Regions from separate parts of the Homo sapiens genome. Here regions 1, 2, 3, 4 and 5 are each linked to region 6. Evidence: promoter capture Hi-C in 16 types of primary human blood cells and fetal thymus (Javierre and others, 2016). All regions are on one chromosome and are shown on one strand. Each heading gives the region's core, a stretch centred on a gene start or on the middle of the fragment in contact. The rest is flanking DNA. Distances are from core to core; before and after follow the strand shown. Region 1 overlaps LOC101928277 (a long non-coding RNA gene). Region 2 has its middle 36 kb from the start of ALDH8A1. Region 3 holds the start of ALDH8A1 (aldehyde dehydrogenase 8 family member A1). Region 4 has its middle 62 kb from the start of ALDH8A1. Region 5 overlaps HBS1L (HBS1 like translational GTPase). Region 6 holds the start of SLC2A12 (solute carrier family 2 member 12).

Region 1 (3,516 bases), core at 709-3,208, 770 kb before region 6:
GGCAGGAGAATCACTTGAACCCAGAGGCAGAGGTTGTAGTGAGCCAAGATCGCACCACTGCACTCCAGCCTGGAGACAGAGCGAGATTCCATCTCAAAAAAGAAAGAAAGAAAGAAAGAAATGCTGGCCTCTAAATAACCAAGTTAGAGTTGGTTGCCATGATTGTCTTTTAATGACATCTACGTACTATCCTTTTCTGACATCAAAACCGACCCTGGCCGGGCGCAGTGGCTCACGCCTAAAATCCCAGCACTTTGGGAGGCCGAGGCGTGTGGATCACGAGGTCAGGAGATTGAGACCTTCCTGGCTAACATGGTGAAACCCCATCTCTGCTTAAAAAAAAAAAAAAAAAAAAATTAGCCAGGTGTGGTGGCGGGTGCCTGTAGTCCCAGCTACTCGGGAGGTTGAGGCCAGGGAATGGCATGAACCTGGGAGGCAGAGCTTGCAGTGAGCGGAGAGCTCACCACTGCACTCCAGCCTGGGTGACAGAGCAAGACTCCGTCTCAAAAAACAAAACAAAGCAAAACAAAAAAACTGACCCAATGGTCCCATAGACAGTTCTTTTTGATAAACATAGAAATTGACCTTTCTAGTCTTAAAGCTTGAAACTAATATTCGTTTTATCTGAGTTCCTTTCTTATGAAAGGACTTTCATACCTCTCAAAAAAAGTATCAAAGGACTGAAATTCACGAAGTCACCAGATCCAGACAATGAGATGCCTGACCCCTCATTCGTCATGATTTCTTCTTTGCCCCTCCCTAGTTCCTGTTTTCTTACACATTGTTACATTTTTCTCCCTGCTATATAAACCCACGTTTCAGTTGATAAGGGAAATGGATTTTTTTTTTTTTTTTTGAGATGGAGTCTTGTTCTGTCACCCAGGCTGGAGTGCAGTGGTGCAATCTCAGCTCACTGCAACTTCCGCCTCCCAGGTTCAAGCTATTCTCCTGCCTCAGCCTTCCAAGTAGCTGGGACTACAGGTGTGTGCTACCATGCCCAGCTAATTTTTGTATTTTTAGTAGAGATGGGGTTTACCATGTTGGCCAGGCTGGTCTCAAGCTCCTGACCTCAGGCAATCTGCCTGCCTCAGCCTCTTAAAGTGTTGAGATTACAGGCATGAGCCACCATGCCTGGCCAGGGAAATGGATTTGAGACTGAGCCCCCATCTTCTAGGATGTAGCACCCAATTAAAGCCTTCTTCCTTGGCATGTCATCATCTCAGTGATTGGTTTTCTGTGCAGCCAGCAGCAGGACCTAGACTGAACCCTTGGTGTTTCGGTAACAACATCAGTGTGATTGATGTCCTCATGAAACCAATGGAATCAGAATTTCCTAGAAATCTTTACAAAGCTTTTGCTTCTCTCATGTTGTATTCTTCAGTCCATGGTGGTTTACATTTGCCTCTTTTATCATCTCTTTTAGTCTGAAAATTTTCTGTTTCTCGTATTAGTGCTTTCAAATAGATTGCCTATTGGATTATTTTCTCATTTATATAGCAGACTCGGATTGGATGGGGGGATATGATTAAAAGACAATTACATATATTTAATACTTTTAGAGGATTTATACAGGAACAAAAATCAGAGGAAGACCTACAAGATTTTCTAATTTAAAAATTTTTAATTATTCTAATAAGCATTTCATGCTCTTAGCTCTTTACTATGAAGAAATGGACTGGGAGCCAACAGATCTGAGTTCCTGTCCCTGCATTGACAAATAATTCATTTTCAGAGCCTGTTTCACAAGCCATGAAATAAGGGAACCATTTTATGTAGAAAGTAGCTTCAAAACAGCTGGGATGAATAAAGTACTTTATTACCTGGAGACTTCAAACACAGTTTTTTTGCTGTGGCCCATAATTTGATAGTGTCTAATTGCATCTAAAATCCAAGTTTTCGGCCAGGCGTGGTGGCTCACACCTGTAATCCCAGCAATTTGGGAGGCCAAGGTGGGCGGATCATGAGGTCAGGAGTTTGAGACCAGTCTGACCAACATGGTGAAACTCCATCTCTACTAAAAATACAAAAATTAGCTGGGCGTGGTAGTGTGTGCCTGTAATCCCAGCTACTCAGGAGGCTGAGGCAGGAAAATCGCTTGAAACTGGGAGGCAGAGGTGGCAGTGAGCTGAGATCGCACCATTGCACTCCTGCCTGGGTGACAGAGTGGGACTCCGTCTCAAAAAAAAAAAAAAAAGTTTTCTGCGATGGCATCTAAGCATCTTTCTGTTCCAGTCCTGAACTGCCTTCCACATCACTTCCCACCCATCTTCTTGGGCCCTGATCCTTTATCACATGCTGTACTCTCAGGACTCCTGACCTTTGCTTCTGCTGTTCCCCCTGCCTAGCATACCACACCCATTTCTTTAGAAATCAAAGGCCCATCTATCTCCTTCAAAACTCAGATCTAGTGTTTCCTCTTGCATGCAGCTTTTTCTAACCTCAGCAGAATGAATTTCCCCCTTCCCTTTGTGCTTTCTCATAATGGAACATTTATCATATGGGATAATTACTTGTTACATGTTTTGTTTTCTATTTAATACCTCCTAAGTTTTGACTGAAGCTTGTCCACATGCTTGGTCACAGAACTGTCCTGGGAAATTCCCTGATGAATTATTTCAAAAGCAACCAAAGTGTCCTAACTTGATGGTAGCAGGGGAAAAACAAGGATCATCTCAGTGTGGCTGAATGAAAAGCAGTATCTATCTGGATCTTCATAAATGATGGAATTGATTTGCCACACCATTTGGTAAAGGCCTGAAGCCGTGGTTAACAGGGTTATTTTGATGAAAACTTGAAACAAAAAACACTCAAAGGACAACAGCCCCGGTGGCCCTTGAGGCAAATGATTGATTCCTGGGGCTATGTTGGAAAGTTTGGCAGAGAAGAGACTGAAATATGCTGTGGGGTGAGGAGGTTGTAGGAGGGGGCCCCACTGGGAGATTCTTGGGCTTTGGAAACATGGGGGAGAGAAAATGGTCCAGAAATGTTGTCTTGGGAAATTAGGGACAGCAGAGCTAGGGATAACAGCATGTCTAGAATACGCTGATAAATTTCCACTAGATGACGCTGTTTCCTCATTTGGCGAATGAGATTTATTACCCTACCCCTACCGGCCAACCTAAGCCCCGGACCACGGACCACGGACCACAGAGGCGTGAGAGCCTGGAGGCCTGGGCTCTAGTTCCAAATCTGCCCCTCCCTGGAATGAGGCCTGGAAGGAACAGACCTCCAAGATTCCCTGAGATTCCTCATTTGTAAAACAAAGAAATCCTCAACCAGGTGCTTTCTAAAACTTCTCCAATTACTTTTTAAAATACGTTTTATTTTTCCATTTTAATGAAAACTGTGGGGATATGTATTGCCTTTTATGTAAATATATACTTGTCATACAGAAATATCAATTTTTATTTAACCAAATCTCATTTAGATAATTAGACTCTGTAAAGCATACGGGGCAAGAATCAAATGAATAACAGTATACTTGTACACATTGGTATGCCTCCTGGGCCTAAACAT
Region 2 (3,200 bases), core at 71-2,570, 860 kb before region 6:
AATACAGATTTGGATTCAGTAGTTCTGCGGTGGGACCTGAGATTGCACTTGGAGTGTCGAAGAATTAGAAGACACTGATTAGAAGACAGGTGCCTCCTCTCCTCTTCCTAGGTTTCAGGAGAAGCTGGCTACATTTGCTCCCTGCTGGAGACACTAGAGTAGAAGAACTTCCCAGGAATGCCTCTAATGGAGCTCCAGGCACAAAGCCTGAGATAGCTCAGGACCTTCCGTGCAATGCTGGGGAGGAGGAAGGGAAAGGCAGCCCCATCTTGGAGTGAGATGCACTGCCAAATTTCACCACCCAAGGCAAAGTCCTCCTCCCTGGTAGTTAATGAGGGTGCAAGATGAACTCTCCACACGTCTTAAAAAGAAGCTTCTTTTCTTCAGAAAATGGGGATTTAGTCCCCCATTCAGCAATGGGTCTTATGGGTAAACTGTTTTTCCAAATTGCAAAAAATAACTTTGTCAATTACCCATGCCAATCAACATATCATTTTTTTTTGTCCTTTTTTTTTTTTTTTGAGTCAGACTCTTGCTCTGTCACTCAGGCTGGAGTGCAGTGGCACAATCTTGGCTCACTGCAATCTCCACCTCTTGGCTTAAAGCCATTCTTGAGCCTCAGCCTCCTGGGTATCTGGGATTACGGGCAACCGCCATCACGTCTGGCTAATTATTGTATTTTTAGTAGAGACGGGGTTTCCCCATGTTGGCCAGGCTGATCTCAGACTCCTGACCTCAAATGAGCCATCTGCCTCGGTTTCCCAAAGTGTTGGGATTACAGGCATGAGCCACCGCGCCCAGTCAACAATACCGTTTTTATTAAAAAAATTACTGGCCAGGCGCAGTGGCTCATGCCTTTAATCCCAGCACTTTGGGAGGCTGAGGTGGGTGGATCACCTGAGGTCAGGAGTTTGAGACCAGCCTGGCCAACACAGTGAAACCCCATCTCTACTAAAAATACAAAAAATTAGCTGGGTGTGGTGGCATACGCCCAGCTAATTGGGAGGCCAAGGCAGGAGAATTGCGAGACTCTGTCCCCCGCAAAAAAAAAAAAAAATTACCAAGCAACCAAGGATTATTAAATTTTCGGTAAAAGAAAAATATCAAGATGTGTGAAAGAGCAACTTACTGTGGTAGAAACAGATAAAAGAAGGAGCGGAGACACTAAAAAGTTGAATGAGTCCCCTCAGAAAGATGTGAGGGGATAGCGCATTTATAAATAAGAACAGGCTTCTATGAAAAAGGAGCAAGCAAACAACATAAAAGAGGTCTTGAGAAATTAAACACTGATTCTCCAATTAAATTTTTAAAATTTATAGAATTGAGTCATTGATATGGCTGAAAACAAATTAGTAGTCTGGAAGATAAAGTTGAGAAAATAGCTCAGGATGTAGAGAATGACAGAAAAGGAAAAATATAAGAGAGTTGGTGAGATGCAGGATAGATCCAGAGAGCTATTAATATGTAACTAATTCAAAATGTAAAAACAAAGACAAAAATATGGAATCAGCCTAAATGTCCATTAACCAACAAGCGGATAAAGAAAATGTATGTATGTGTGTATATATGTATGTGTGTGTATGTATATATATTATATATGTGTATATATACATATACCATGGAATACTACTCAGCCATAAAAAGGAATGAAATAACAGCATTTGCAGCAACCTGGATGGAGTTGGAGACCATTATTCTAAGTGAAGTAACTCAGGAATGGAAAACCAAACATCATTATGTTCTCACTTACAAGTGGGAGCTAAGCTATGCTATGAGGACACAAAGGCAGAAGAATGATATAACGGACTCTGAGTTCCCTGGCGGGCAGGGTGGGCGGGGCATAGGGATGAAAGACGTTGGGTACAGTGTCCACTGCTCGGGTGATGGGCGCCCCAAAATCTCACAAATCACCACTAAAGAACGTATCCATGTAACCAAACACCACCTGTTCCCCCAAATGTATTGAAAAAAAAAAAAAAAGACAAAAAGGGGGAAAAAATCAAATAAATAGAAAAAGAAAATTTCTCTGAACCAAAGACACTCTTTTTAGATGGAAAATACCATGTTTCAAGAAATACTCTGTTGAAAATTTGAAATTCCTAGTGTAGGCTGGGTGCAGTGGCTCACACCTGTAATCCCAGCACTTTGGGAGGCCAAGGCAGGAGGATATCTTGCGGCAAGAAGTTCGAGACCAGCCTGGCCAATGTAGTGAGACCCTGTCTCAAAATATCAAAAATAAAAATAAAAATTCCTAGTGTAAAGCTTACAGAGTGAATCAACAGGATACCTACCACAAAAAAGCATATAAGATTATCATCACTATTTTCATTAGTAACATTGATGCTAAAAGACAGAGGAGCAAAACTTCAAAGTTCTCAAGGAAAATTATTTTGAACCTAAATTTATAGGCAGCCAAACTCTTATTCACGAATGAAGGCACAATAAGATATTTAATGACTCGAAAAGTTTCTCCCTATCTCGAAGGTTTCATCCTTTCTGGTATGACTTGGGGATGTAATGCAGCAAAAAGAAACAAGAATTCAAATAAATAGAAGAACTGCCTGAAAAATGAAATGAAAATTAATTTTAAGTTGTTAGATATTTAAAAAGAGGCCTAGAAAGCTGTTGGCTCAAGTTAGGACAGGGAAGACAGGACGTGGTGATTGAAGAACATCTTTAAAAAGAACATGGATTTAAAAATAAGGTTTAATAATCTGGAAGATCTTAGATATGTAAAAAAGCTAAAGGGGAACAGAATATCCCATCCCAATATATGCTACTTTGATACATTGATTGTTTTGAGCTGAGGGTAATTGAGAAAAAGCAGACACAGGAAAAGCTATTTTCCCCCTGTTTGCCTAAAAGGAGGGCATAACATTCCCTTATGATAGTTTTCTCTCTTGTACCAGGAGAGAAAGAGTAACCTTTATTTCTGGAGATGGAGATGGTGCCGAGATGTCTGCATAAACAAATCTCACTAAATAACTTTTACCTTCATTGGATTTTCCCCCAGATTTTTACCTTTCTACAATTTACTGGCCCTAAAAACCCAAACTCCCTCTTCTTTGTTAGTCATTTCTCAACAATCTTTCACCTTTGGTTAAAATGGCACTTATGGCCCCAAGACTAGCCACTTATTTGGGTTTTTACTTCTTTTCTATGGAGCTCCCATGCACATAAAATTTAAAATAAAATTCGTA
Region 3 (3,652 bases), core at 442-2,941, 900 kb before region 6:
GGACCTGCGTATTTCTCTCATTCTGTTTCCAGCTGACCTGACCGTGGGCAGCACCAGAAAAAGCCTGAGACTACCTTCTGTCTCCAGTCCCTGTCAGCGACTCTCCAGCGACAGGCAACGGCGCCAGCTCCAGACTCCAGCTGCTCTGGGCCTCCCAGAATCAGCCACACCATGCTTGTCAGAAGTCTCAGCAAGAATTTTGGAGAATATCTAGAGACCAATAAAGATGGAAGCAGAGAGGGCCTAAGGAGGTGCACGGCCAGCAAGTGCCCTCATGTGATCAATGAATTTTAGAATATTGGTACCTAACCTTCAACTGAATTATAACTATAAATCATAATTATAAAAGTAATATAGGCTTGCCATAAAATATCCAAGCAGTTTAAAACGGCTTCCTGTCAACCATGTAAATAGCCAAAGAAACTATGCTGTATATATTATTCACTAGTTTTATTTTTTCACTTAACAATGCATCCTTCTAATGTCTAAGTAGTATTCCCTGTTAAGAATATAACAATTATACTCTAATATTCTCCAATTGATGGACTTTAGGTTGTTTTGATTTTTAAATTATGATAAAAAAGGATGTCCTGTGACTTATGTACTTGTTCATGAGCACGTAATTCTGTAGGAGAGATTCCTAGAAGAGAAATTGACCAGACCCTGACAAATTGCCCCAAGCAGTGTTCTGTGAACCCTCCCGCCTATGGACTAGGGATGATTCTCCACATCCTCACAGAGTAGATGTTCTCAATCTTTAAAAATGCTCTCCAGTATGATTGGCAAATCAGGCCACCTCTGTATTTCACATTCCTTGCTTAACAACAAGGCTGAACATTGTTAATATATTCATTAGCCAATTGTGTTCCTTTTCCTATGGATTGCTTTTTTGTATCTTTGCTTATCTTTTCTGTTGGGGTGCTCATTTCTCTTACCAATTTGTAGAAATTCTCAGCTACATCAGGGATCTGAAGCCCTTGCTATATGTGTCACACATGTTTTTGGCTTGTCTTTATCTCCATGGCACATCTAGGAAGATGTGAGCAGCCACTGTGGCCCCGGTTTTGGGATGGAGAGACAGCTCTTCCAAGAGAGGGCAGCCAAGGTAAAGAAACACAGATGAGCCACGGAAAGAGGGCATCTGTCTTCAGTTACCTCTGCAGGGTAAGCAGTGATGCATTGAGGAAAAAGTATATGATTTGGAGATTAAAGGGCTACAGTTCATCCCCTGCTAACTATGTGACCTTGGAAAAATGGTCTAACCTCTCCAAGGCTCAGTTTCTTCTATAAAAGAGAGGAAGTAATGGTTACTTCATATAGGATTGTTGTGTGGAATAAACGAGTAAATTCATGTAAAGGACTTGCTTTGGGGCCTGGCATCCAATCAGTGTTTGAGCAATGAACAGTTTACGGTGTGAACCCAATAAAATCACATGCACAGATGCCTTCTGATGATTTAAAGGGCTATGAACACATAAGTAAGTAGCTGTTACTTTTACACACAATTATCCATGTCAGGTAATGTACTAGAAGTCTGTGAAACATTCAGCCACTCTCTTAGTTCTGAGTTTGGAGACTGGAATGCTCTCTGAGAGCGTCAGGTGCCCTCCCACATTCACTGATTGGTAAAGGGGAAGATGGGGGCTGGGAAGGGGGAGGCTCACTCAGGAGTCCAGACAGTGGTGGGGACAACCTGAGTGCTCAGTCGTAAAGAGGAAAGGCAGAATTTTTCCTTGCTATGGCTGGAACAAACGCACTTTTGATGCTGGAAAACTTCATAGATGGAAAATTTTTACCTTGTAGCTCATATATAGATTCTTACGACCCATCAACAGGGGAAGTGTATTGCAGAGTGCCAAATAGTGGAAAAGACGAGGTGAGTATATGCACTTAAAGAAGACTGAAATGTGTTTAATATGTTGGCCAATTATGGGTAACAGTTTTCTAAAAGCAGAGGGAGTTGGGGGAAGATGTAGGATTGTTAAACATGATAGAAGGAAGATTCTAGTTCTCAGAAGATGTACCTTGTAACTGGACTGTATGATACCTAGAACAAATCTCTTCCTATATGCAGAAAGTAAGTCATTTTTCTAGCCAACCTAACACAGCCCTGTGTGCAGTTTTTTTTTGCAATTCTCAAACATTTCCTAATCAGTGTCTAGTACAAAGTATTATTTGTAAGAGCTATCACTTTGTTAAATATTCCCTTTTCTCCACCACGCACTGCTTAAATTTACCACTATATCCATGGAATTAAAAAAAAAGTATAGCTTTACTAAAATAAACAAACAAGCAAAAAACTGTGGGCTTTGTTTTAGATTGTCTTCTCATAATTTGTCATGTCTTCAAAATACCTAGTAAAATAAAATCAATCATTTGAATGATGAAACTCAAAATCAAATTCCCATATATTTTTGGAGTTAGATTTAACAGCGTCTTTTTTCTTATCCAAAGTGTTTAATGGCATATGCATTACATTTTTTTGGTGATGTAGAATTAATTTTACTTGGAGAATTTTGTAAAATATTTGAGATATATTTGATTAGCTATCAATTATTGCACTGAGAATGTAAATATATCTGAAGTGGTAAATGTAGCTGATGTATATATAGTCATCTAATGCCTTATGAATTATAATTTATTCTTTTTAAGGCACAAATAACTAGATTATTTAAAATATAGTCTTCCTATAAAAATATATATTCCATGCAAAGTTTTTTTTTAAGAACATTGCTATTTTTTTTCTTTTTTGTTAATACTTCAAATCTGTCTTGCATTTAAAGTAAACCTTCAGACTTAGGGATTAATGTTTGCAAATGTTGGTTAATGCATTGGTTAAATTATAAACTGCAATTTTGTTTGCTTCAAATGACTTAACACAGCTCTGGGAAATCCAGCTTTGTGTTTTCCACTCTTCCTTGTTTGCCAAAGTGAAGTTAAAAATGACAAACATGCCAAATTCAGCTGAAATATTTCCTGCAGCTAATGGCTCATAACTTTTTAGAAAATAGAATGAGCTATGGATGCGCTAGCTAGTAGAGTAATAGATATGTTCAGTTTCTCAGCAATCCAACTTCCAAATATCCTATCTGATCCCATAAGTCATAGTTTTTTCCGGCTTGAAAAATATGGTTACCATACAAACTGCATGTCCAATTTCCAAAACATCACTCAGGAAAATGTTGCTGGTGCTGCTAACAGTGGCTCCCGTTTATTCAACTTTTGCTTTGTGCTTTGCAGTCATTAAGCCCTTTTTTAACAAAAAATTAAAAAATTGATACATAATAATTGTACATCTTTATGGGCATATGTGACATTTTGATACATGCATACAATGTGTCATGATCAAATCAGGGTAATTAGGATCTCCATCACATTAAACATTTATCATTTCTTGGTGTTGGGAACATTCCAAATCTTTTCTTCTAACTATTGTGAAATATACAATAAATTATTGTTAACTATTGTCACTCTACTAGAACTTATTCCTTTTAACCATATTTTTGTATTAATTAGCCAACCTCTATCCTCTCCTCTACCCTTCCCAGCCTCTGGTAACCATAATTGTACTCTCTACCTCCATGAGATCAACTTTTTTAAGCTTCCACATATGAGTGAGAACATGTAATATTTGTATTTTTGTGCCTTGCTT
Region 4 (3,479 bases), core at 609-3,108, 840 kb before region 6:
GGTATAACGTGAAAAAAGAAAAACGCAGCAAGAGGTAGGAATACTCTTAAGTTTAGTTTTTAGGTGGCATGATGGTTTTGCTTTTTTCCCCTCAGTTTTCCCATCCTGAGGCCTTTCTACCTCCTCTGTGAGGCAGTGCATGTATAAAGAGTAACAGAAGGGAGTCCTTCTAGAGGAACTCAAAGTGGGAAATGGAAAAAGGAGAGAGACTTAAAGCATACTTATAACAAACAAGTAAGAGGTACACTAAGCAGTAGTCATGTTTGACACAGTAAAAGATCTTTTTATTGTTGTTTTTGTTTGTATAGACATTGCACTTATCTTCAGTCGAAATTAGTCAGAATTACACGTCTCATTCCTTTGGGACCCACAGCATTAACTAGCACATCTGACACTTGAATCCAGTTGCAGCGCTGATGTGAAGGTCTGTCGTGGGGAAGGGCATGTAAACCCAGGGAGCATCTCCTATGGGTCTTGTGGAGAAGAAGCCTTTATAGTTTTGCCAGTGCCGATGTTGGAAACTTTAATCTCGGTGTATTGGAGGCTCCATTAAAGACTTATCTGGGGGGAAATGGGCATGGTGGTCCACACCTGTAGTCCCAGCTATCTGGGAGACTAAGGCACAAGTGAGATGATAACTTGAGCACAGGAGTTTGAGGCCAGCTTGGGCAATATAGTGAGACCCTATGTCAAACAAAAATTTATCTGGGGGTAATATGCTCCTCGAATGCCTCTGTGTTCTCGCATTTGAAAACTGCCCTCCTGTGAAGGATGCTCATGTCTACTCGGAACGTTATGCAGATAGGTGCTGGTCTGTCTTAAGAATGCCAGAAAGCTTCCAGAGTCCTAAACTGATTTTAAAATGGTTATCAGAGCATATTTTGCACATCACTCTTTTCAAGTGATTTTTTTTAGCAAATGTACCAAGTTGTGCAACCATCACCATAAATCTGTTTTAGCACATTTTCATCATGCCAATTCCATCCCTCATGCACATTTACTGCTAATTTCCATTATCCCCTGTCCCTAGCAACCACGAATCTACTTTCTATCTTTATAGCTTGCCTTTTGTGGATATTTCATATAAATAGAGTCCCAGCACATGTAGCCTCTTCTGCCTGGCATCTTTCACTGAGTATAATGCTTTTGAGATTCATCCACATCATGGTGCATATCCGTAGTTTGTTCCTTTATCTTGCCGAGTCATATTTCATTGTATAGAAGTACAAGTGTATTGACTCTTAAGTATGCATTGCATGTATAGCTTCCATAGTAGATACACACAAGAAGAAAACCAACTTGCTGAAATGTTAGTAGCACCAAAAAATGTATTTCCAAGACAGTCTTTCTAATGAGAATAGAACATTCATGTTATAATACTATCTAATCCATCAATAACTTGGACTTTATTTTAAAAATAAATATTCATTGAGCTCATGCTAACTGTTGTGCTAGGTGTTGGTGATGTCTGGACATGGGTAAGACATAATCATTACCCTAAACAAACTCAGATTCTTTGTTTTTTTTTTTTTTTGAGATGAGTCTCACTCTGTCACCCAGGCTGGAGTGCAGTGGCACGATCTCGGCTCACTGCAACATCTGCCTCCCGGGTTCAAGTGATTCTTCTGCCTCAGCCTCCCGTGTGCCACCACGCCCGGCTAATTTTTTGTATTTTTAGTAGAGACAGGGTTTCACCATGTTAGCCAGGATGGTATTGATCTCCTGACCTCGTGATCTGCCTGCCTCGGCCTCCCAGAGTGTTGGGATTACAGGCATGAGCCACTGCACCCAGCCAACAAACTCAGATTCTTATGGTAGACAGACACAGAGCATAAGGTGAAGAAATGAAGTGTTGGGTGTTGGTAGAATATCAAAGTAGCTGATTTGGTTTGGCTGTGTCCCCACCCATATCTCACCTTGAATTTTGATAATACCCACGTGCCATAGGAGGGACCTGGTGGGAGGTAACTGAATCATGGGGATGGGTCTTTCCCGTGCTGTTCTCATGATAGTGAATACATCTCAGGAGATGTGATGGTTTTATAAAGGGCAGTTCCCCTGCACACGTGCTCTTTGCCTCCCACCATGTAAGACGTCCCTTTGCTCTTCATTTGTCTTCTGCCATGATTGTGAAGCCTTCTCAGCCATGTGGAACCATCAATCCATTAAACCTCTTTCCTTTATAAATTACGCAGTCTCAGGTAGGTCTTTATTAGCAGCATGAGAACGGACTAATACAGTAGCCAGGCCTAAAATTCTAAATTGGAACACTTGTGCACATTTTAAGGTTTTTAAAAGTTCCTATTCTAGGTTCATGGTGGATAATTAATAACCTCAACGGGGAGGAAAACAAGTCATTTCCAGGGTCTTCTATTAAATTCTGTATTAGTGACATGATTTTGATGACCTTGAATGAAGTCACACAAAGACTTGCTTATCTAAATATACATTGTGGAAGGCATGTGTGCTAGGTACTTGTCTTTATTGACCCAATATTCATATCCCTCCTTTCCTGCTAACAGAACTTAAATTTATTTGGGTAGTAGCAGAAGTCCTTTTGTTTCAGGGAGGAAGGGCCCACCCTTAGTCCCTGGGAATTAATAGTAATTCTAAGCCAGTTATTCCTCTTGGCCAGTCATTAGTCTAAGGATGACTGCGTGATCCAGTTCTGGCTGATAAGATGCAAAAGAAAGTATGGCTAGTGACACTTCTGGGAAAGTTCTTACTTTTCTGATACAAAGGGGACAGACCCAGCTGGCATGGAATTTGTCCCTTTGCCCTTTCCCTTGGTTCTTGGCCGAAATGTGCGTGTGATGTCTGTAGGTGAGATAGGCATCTTGAGACCAAGGGACAAAAAGCGTGAAGATGAAAGTAAGCTTGCTAAGGATAATGAATCTGAAAGATGAAAGGAAATGTGGTCCCTAATGGTGTCACTGGCAACATGAGCCCAGGGCTGCCTACTCTCAGATTTATTGTTATGTGAGAAAAATTAAACTCGTGTGTTTAGGTTTTTGTGCTCAAATTTTTCTGTTACTTGCTGCCAAAAGCATCCCTAACTGATATAGTATGCCTGTCAGATTTTCAAATGTTTGGAAACTGAGAAGAAGTGTAAACATATGTGCTGACAGAATGTAAATTTAAAAAGTATATCCTTTGATTTATTTATCCACCAAATATTAAATACTTTCCAGGTACAAGATCTAGTGCTAGGTCTGGGCTGAAATGCTGTCAAAAAAATAAAACACTAAAGGGAGTAACAAAAACATGCCACATTTAGGTTCAGCACAGTTAAGTGCACAAGTGTAGGACTGAAGTAACCTTGTTTACTTGAGTATCTAATAAAAAGATCCTCCCCCTTGTCCTGCACAGACACAGACTGAGCACACTTACAGGCTCTGCTCTGTGAACCAAAGCAGGGAGATGTTATCATCCTCTTCAATACTCTGATTTTTAGGACACTTTTAAGGCAATGTGCTCAG
Region 5 (3,263 bases), core at 110-2,609, 920 kb before region 6:
TTGCTTTAGGAGATTCTGCCAGCATATATTGATTCAGAAATACCAGGATCAAATTTGTTTCAGAAAAATATGGCCATATTTTGTCAGTCTACTCCCTATGGGAGAAAAACTTGAAAAAAAATTTTTTAAGCAAACAAAGGTTTCCTAAGCTATTAAAATTTTACTGTTTAGGGACTAATGCCATAATACTACATAAATATATTTAAATTTTCCCTATTTTGTATGGGAAACTCTATTTCAGTAGCTTTTGGGTACAAGTAATTTTTTCCTTTGTTTTTTATTTATTTGTCAATTTTCTTTTTACTTCTTTTTACCAACTAGTGGTTTTTGATTACATGGATAAATTGTATAATGGTGAAATCTAAGATTTTAGTGCACCCATCACCCAAGTAGTGTATATTGTACCCAAGATGTAGTTTCTTATCCCTCACCCCCTTCAAGCCCTACCCGCTACTGAGTCTCCAGTGTCCCCTATACTGTTCTGTATGTCTTTGTGTACCCATAGCTTAGCTCCCACTTTTAAGTAAGCACATATGCTATTTGGTTTTTCATTCCTAAGTTACTTCTCTTAGAATAATATCCTCCAGCCCTATCCAAGTTGCTGCAAAACACACTATCTCTACCCTTGTATGGCTGAGTAGTATTCCATGGTGTACATATACGTTTTCTCTATCCACTCATTGGTTGATGGGCACTTAGGTTGGTTCCACATTCTTGCAACTGTAAATTGTGCTGTGATAAACATGCATTCAAGTATCTTTTTGATATAATGACTTATTTTCCTTTGGGTAGATACCCAGTAGTGAGACTGCTGGATCAACTGGTAGATCTACTTTTCGTTCTTTGAGAAATCTCTGTTCTGTTTTCCTCAGAGGCTATACCAATCCACATTCCTACCAGCAGTGCACAAGTGTTCCCTTCTTCATCGCATACAGGGCAACATCTATTGTTTTTTGACTTTTTAATAATGGCCATTCTGGCTGGAGTAAGGTGGTATCCCATTGTGGCTTTGATTTGTACTTCCTCGATGATTAATGATGTTGAGCATTTTTTCATATGTTTCTTGGCCATTTGTATGTCTTCTTTTGAGAAGTGTCTGCTCATGTCACTTGCCCATTTCCTGATGGAATTGTTTGCTTTTTTTTCTTGCTGATTTGAGTCTTTTGTAGATTCTGGATACTAGTCCTGTCAGATGCATAGTTTGCAAATATTTTCTTCCATTCTGTGGATTGTCTGTTTACTATGTTCAGGATTTCTTTGCTGTGCACTAGCTCTTTAGCTTAATTAGGTCTTATCTATTTATTTTTATTTCCGTTGAATCTGCTTTGGGGGTCTTAGTCATAAATTCTTACCTAGGCCAATGTCCAGAAGAACCTCTCCCAGGTTTTCCTCCAGAATTTCCATGGTTTCAGTTCCTAGATCCAAGTCCCTCTTGAGTTAACTCTTGCATGTAGTGAGAGATAGGAATCCAGTTTTCGTTCTTCCATATGTAGCTATCCAGCACCATCCATTTTCCCAGCACCATCCATTGAATAGGGTGTCCTTTCCCCAATTTATGTTTTTGCATGCCTTGTCAAAGATTAGTTGGTTGTTAAGTATTTGGCTTTGTTTCTGGGTTCTCTATTCTGTTGCATTGGTCTATGAATCTACCTTTATACTAGTACCATGCTGTTTTGGTTATTATAGCCTGTAGTATAATTTGAAGTAGGGTAGTGTGATGCCTCCAGATTTGCTCTTTTTGCTTAGGACTGCTTTGGCTAATTGGGCTCTTTTTGGGTTCCATATGAATTTTAGGATTGTTTTTTCTAATCTTGTGGAAAATGATGTTAGTATTTTGACAGGATTTGCACCAAATCTGTAGATTGGGCAATGTGGTCTCTTCCATGATATTGATTCTTCCAATTCATGAGCATGGGATGTATCTCTGTTCATTTGTCATCCATGATTTCTTTCAGCTGTGTTTTGTAGTTCTCCTTGTAAGAGATCTTTCACCTCCTTGGCTAAGTACATTCCTAGGTGGGTTGGTTGGTTGGTTTTGTAGCTATTGTAAAAGGGATTAAGTTCTTGTTCTTGATTTGATTCTCAGCTTGATCGTTGTTGGTGCTACTGATTTGTGTACATTGATTTTGTAACCTGAGACTTTACTGAATTCATTTATCAAATCTAGGTGTTGTTTGGGAGGAATCTTTAGGATTTTTTAGGTATGTAATTATATCATTGGCAAACAGAGATAGTTTGACTTACTCTTTTCCAATTTGGATGCCCTTGATTTCTTTCTCTTGCCTGATTGCTCTGGCTAGGACTTCCAGTACTGTGTTTAATAGAAGTGATGAGAGTGAACATCCTTGTCTTGTTTCAGTTCTTAGGGGGAATGCTTTCAACTTTTCCCCATTTAGTATGATGTTGGCTGTGGGTTTGTCATATGTGGCTTTTATTATTTTGAGGTATGTTTCCTCTTTGCCTAGTTTATTGAACATTTTATCATTAAGGGATCCTGGATTTTATCTAGTGCTTTTTCCGCATCTATTGAGATGATCATCTGTTTTTTTTTTGCTTTTAATTGTTTCAGTGGTGAATCACATTTATTGACTTGCATATGCTGAACCATTCCTGCATCCTTGGGAGGAAACCTCCTTGATCATGATAAAATGTCTTTTGGATATGCTGTTGGACTTGGTTTGCTAGTATTTTGTTAGGGATTTTTGCATCTGTGTTTATCAGGGGTGTTGGTCTGTAGCTTTCTTTTTTTGTTATGTCCTTTCCTGGTTTTGTTATCAGGGTGATGATACTGGCTTTATGGAATGAGTTAGAGAAGATTCTCTCTTTCTCAGTCTTTTAATAGTTTCAGTAGGATTGGTATTATTTCTTTGAATGTCTGGTAGAATTTGGCTATGGATCCATCTGGCCCTGAGCTTTTTTGTTGTTGTTGAAAATTTTTTTTTTATTACTGATTTATTCTCACTGCTTGATATGTGTCTGTTTAGGATTTCTTATTTCTTCCTGATTCAAGCTTGGAGGGTTGTATGTTTCCAGGATTTATCCGTTTCCTCTAGATTTTCTAGTGTGTGCACGGAGGTGTTTATAGTAGTCTCAAATGATCTTTTGTATATCTGTGGTGTCGTTTATAATGTCTCCATTTTCCTTTTGAATTGAGCTTATTTGAATCTTCTCTCTTACTCTATATTTTTTAAGAGGAAATAATAGAAGAATGGATTAGACTTTAAGTGAATTTATATTTGATTTTTATTATTTTATATATATAT
Region 6 (3,713 bases), core at 782-3,281:
AGCAGAATAAAGAACAGAATTAGGAGCACCAGGAGGTGATGTTGTCAGTTGCATTGCTGAGCATTCTTTTTGACTCCTGGTTGGCTTACTATGCCTGTGGATCTCCTGTATGGTTTGGCTACACAAAACAGAGTGAGAACTGTTGAACTGCTTTTAACCATAGTAAAGTATTCTGGAATTAGTTTTGTCTTCTGTCTAGTCAAGCACTATAGCAAACACTCTAACACTCCCATGGGGCCAAGAAGCTGCTAGAAACACAGGTTGTGGGATCACGAAACAAAGCAATGATACAACTAACCCATTGCAAGAACATTTTCCCCCTAATGAGGTCATTGGTTCTGAGCAGAAAGAAGTTAGAAGCCAAGAGAATATAGAGAACTTATGGGAAACATATGTGTCTCACAGATAGAAACTGGGACTCCTATATAATTATAATGCACCCTGGGAACAAATAAAATGAGTTGTTTCAAACCATGGTTGCGTTACACATTCTTTAGTGGGGACACTGATGTGTGGGATTCTGAACTTCTCACCCTCTTAATCATAAGGGGCCTGGATTATGCCTGGAGGACTTCCATTTTCTAGCACTATCAGCAGACATACAACGGGTACATAATAAAGACTAGTTGAATTATTATAGGTTTGTTTCCATTTGCTACCTGTTTCCCTGAAAGATAAGAAAAATATAGAATTATTTAATGACAAGCAAAGGAAATGTACAAATAAGTGAATTTAGAACTTTGAAGTGATTCAGTTAAAATGTTGAAAAGAAGTAACAAAAATTTAGCTTCTGCTTATACAAGCACAAATTTGTTTTTCTGTCCAGAGAAATGCCTATGACTAAAAGCCATATTTCACGGCATCTTCTTAAAGTCGAGTAGGTCTGAAACCATAGGAAGCCAAGAAAATTAGAGAAGGACAAGGCTGGGAAGTTAGAATATAGGAGAGTTACAGCTTTAGACCTCCTGGATTCATAATCTCAGCTCTACCACTGATTAGCTGTGAGACTGTAGCCAAGTTACCCAACCTCCATTTCCTCTTCTATAATGTTGGTACCTGCCTCAAAGTCATCATCTGCGTTATTGCGCTTAGCACAATTTCTGGCACATAAGTGCTCCACACATGTTAGTTTTTATTCCAAATGATTTTTAAGATGATCTCAATTTCCTCTATAAGGCTTTTTTTTTTAATAAACATGATTTGTTGAATGAATAACTGAAGGTAAAATGTCATAACCCTGTAAGACTTTTTTATAAATATGTTCACAAATCAGAAAAAGATCCTCTCTCATGACCTGATTTTGTTTGAGATTACATGTCCACCACACGCACACAATGGGCCACTTAGTCTGGCCTCTCTGAGTGAGGAGTATCCTCCTCCTACCTACGCAAACATGAAACCTAACAGAGGATTCAGTGTTAATTTGTCTCTTAAAGACAATTCTGCATTAAGAAATGGATTACTTTGCTATAACCTCAGCATATAAAAAGTCTAAAGAATCTGTGCATTCTGAGTTTGTGTATTTTTGGTCTCAGGCTGTGATTTATCTGAAAGGCCTTGGAGAGAAAGATATAGGCCTTTACCTAGACCAAAATCAGGTTGAAACAATAAAGGTATTTTATGCTTTGTGTAAGCTGGTAAATACCATGACTTTTGGAATAACAGTCTTGCTGAAAAATTGACACACTTTTCCTTCTGGTATGTCTTTGCATAAATTGTTCCTCTTTCTGCAAGATTAACTGATACCATCTGTGAGTATTCTATCCCCACTCTCAGCTTGCATTTAAATCTGCATGTTTCCTTTCTCTGCCTCTTTTCAAAGGTGCTAGAATACAAGAGCTACCCTTAGCTAATGGCCAAACACTCCGTCTGAGTTCCCTTTCTTTTAACCCCTTGCTTCCAACTCTGCATCTAAAGGCAAAAACAATCCTCTGACTCACGGCCCTCCCCCTGCCTGTGATAGGCTGCTTGGAATAGCAACAGCCTGTGTCACCGAAAAGGGCAAAGCCTTCGGAAATAGAAACAAAGTTGGTCACAAATCACATTAGCTTTGCCCGAAGTTTTTCCCCACACTCTTCTTTAGCATGCTATTATGGGGAAAGTGACCACTCCTGGGAGCGGGGGTGGTCGGGGCGGTTTGGTGGCGGGGAAGCGGCTGTAACTTCTACGTGACCATGGTACCTGTTGAAAACACCGAGGGCCCCAGTCTGCTGAACCAGAAGGGGACAGCCGTGGAGACGGAGGGCAGCGGCAGCCGGCATCCTCCCTGGGCGAGAGGTAAAGTGAGCCTGCAGTGCTCGGGTGACCGCAGAGAAGCAAGCTGTACTCATCTCCCGAGTGTACTGTCTCTTGAGTCCCGTGTGTGTGTGTGTGTGTGTGTGTGTGTGTGTGTGTGTGTGTGTGTATGCGCGCGCGCGCATGTGGGCGCGCTGGATGAGTGGAGAGAAGGGGACAGGGTCTGGTGGGACGTGGGACAGCTCGGAGCTGTAATGTTGTGAAGATCGAAGTCTTGGTGGAACCTTATGTGCCAAGAAAATACAGGTTACACATCCACCACTGGTATGATGGGTCCCCTTGATTGTGTTTACATAATACAATGTATGGATGTTTTTCATATTGGAACGGTCCACTGGCAAAGATAGTCTCATTTGTAAACACACACAAGCACACGCTTGCTTACACTTTTTCATTTATTGTCACAAATGGACACTGTGTAACCAGTTGACATTATAACCACTGTTTTAAAAATCAGTATTTTAAACAGGCTTCATAAAATTATTAGTTATGTAATCAATGAGAACACAAACTTCCTTTTTAAATTCCCAGCACGTTTGTGATGAATTTGAGCGTTATTCAGAGCCTGAAACGCTTGCTTTGCTGGGTTCTGCCTTCTTTAAAACTGGCCTTGCAAACTGAGGTTTGTTTGCTATGATGACCTTCTGAAGGTGAAATTTGGAAAAGTTTTAATTCATTTAATGATCTTTGATAAATCAGAGGCTGGTCTTCACTTCCACATTTACAATTCCCACAAATACATTGTACGCTTTTTGCTGCCTCTTCCTGCTCATTTAGTTTGTGCTGCAAGGAATAGAAAGTAATTGTAATATGAAATGACAACAAACACAAAAAATCTTCTCTTTCCTACTACTTTCCTCAGCTGTGTATTCTTAATCAGATATTACATTCCCAAGCAGCATATAGAAATTTCATGCAAAATCCAATACACTAAATGATACAAAAGACATCTGCCTTTCTCTTGGGAATGGTCCTAATACTGACGTTTGCCTTGTGGGTTTGTCTGATCTTGGGGAATCGAACCTGTGACCCCTAACATCGAGGCATGAAGCGGCCCTCTTCAGGAGTGGAGAAGCCCTCCATCTTCCATGTCCTGATCTCTTCTCTTGCTTTCACACTTCTCGTCAAGAATGAGGCCGGGCGTGGTGGCTCATGCCTGTAATCTCAGCACTTTGGGAGGCCAAGGTGGGCAGATCACTTGAGGCCAGGAGTTCAAGACAAGCCTGGCCAACAGAGCGGAAACCCTATCTCTACTAAAAATACAGAAAAATAAAAAAATTAGCTGAGCATAGTGGCACATGCCTGTAATCTCAGCTACTCAGGAGGCTGAGGTACAAGAATCACTTGGAGGTTACAGTGAGCTGAGATCATGACACTGCACTCCAGCCTGGGTGACAGAGTGAAACTCTGTCTAACAT

What was found. The method cuts DNA at HindIII sites, captures the fragments that hold promoters and counts their contacts. A CHiCAGO score of 5 or more calls a contact.
Region 1: a contact is called between a fragment that was not itself captured here and the fragment with the promoter of SLC2A12 in region 6, in 1 of 17 cell types (activated CD4 T cells). The highest score is 5.1, in activated CD4 T cells.
Region 2: a fragment that was not itself captured here is called in contact with the fragment with the promoter of SLC2A12 in region 6 in 1 of 17 cell types (M2 macrophages); the score reaches 5.1 in M2 macrophages.
Region 3: a contact is called between the fragment with the promoter of ALDH8A1 here and the fragment with the promoter of SLC2A12 in region 6, in 16 of 17 cell types (M2 macrophages, M0 macrophages, total CD4 T cells and 13 more). The highest score is 22.8, in M2 macrophages.
Region 4: a contact is called between a fragment that was not itself captured here and the fragment with the promoter of SLC2A12 in region 6, in 1 of 17 cell types (M0 macrophages). The highest score is 6.5, in M0 macrophages.
Region 5: a fragment that was not itself captured here is called in contact with the fragment with the promoter of SLC2A12 in region 6 in 2 of 17 cell types (neutrophils and M0 macrophages); the score reaches 7.3 in neutrophils.

Annotation. Positions count from the first base shown.
Region 1 is chr6:134,822,664-134,826,179 of GRCh38, reverse strand. All of the region lies in intron 2 of LOC101928277 (a long non-coding RNA gene), which reads left to right. Among named protein-coding and RNA genes, the nearest start is that of ALDH8A1, 130 kb to the left of the region's middle. The HindIII fragment of the contact is 1,209 bases long and covers 1,354-2,562 here.
Region 2 is chr6:134,912,354-134,915,553 of GRCh38, reverse strand. No RefSeq gene overlaps it. Among named protein-coding and RNA genes, the nearest start is that of ALDH8A1, 36 kb to the left of the region's middle. The HindIII fragment of the contact is 1,889 bases long and covers 376-2,264 here.
Region 3 is chr6:134,948,140-134,951,791 of GRCh38, reverse strand. ALDH8A1 (aldehyde dehydrogenase 8 family member A1) reads left to right here and starts at 1,691. Exons shown (of 7, transcript NM_022568.4): 1 at 1,691-1,876. The coding sequence starts at 1,739. The HindIII fragment of the contact is 9,755 bases long and covers 1-3,603 here.
Region 4 is chr6:134,886,010-134,889,488 of GRCh38, reverse strand. No RefSeq gene overlaps it. Among named protein-coding and RNA genes, the nearest start is that of ALDH8A1, 62 kb to the left of the region's middle. The HindIII fragment of the contact is 2,041 bases long and covers 838-2,878 here.
Region 5 is chr6:134,973,940-134,977,202 of GRCh38, reverse strand. The region is part of intron 15 of HBS1L (HBS1 like translational GTPase); the gene reads left to right. Among named protein-coding and RNA genes, the nearest start is that of MIR3662, 3.9 kb to the left of the region's middle. The HindIII fragment of the contact is 3,307 bases long and covers 1-3,012 here.
Region 6 is chr6:134,050,942-134,054,654 of GRCh38, reverse strand. SLC2A12 (solute carrier family 2 member 12) reads left to right here and starts at 2,031. Exons shown (of 5, transcript NM_145176.3): 1 at 2,031-2,277. The coding sequence starts at 2,175. The HindIII fragment of the contact is 5,616 bases long and covers 1-3,713 here.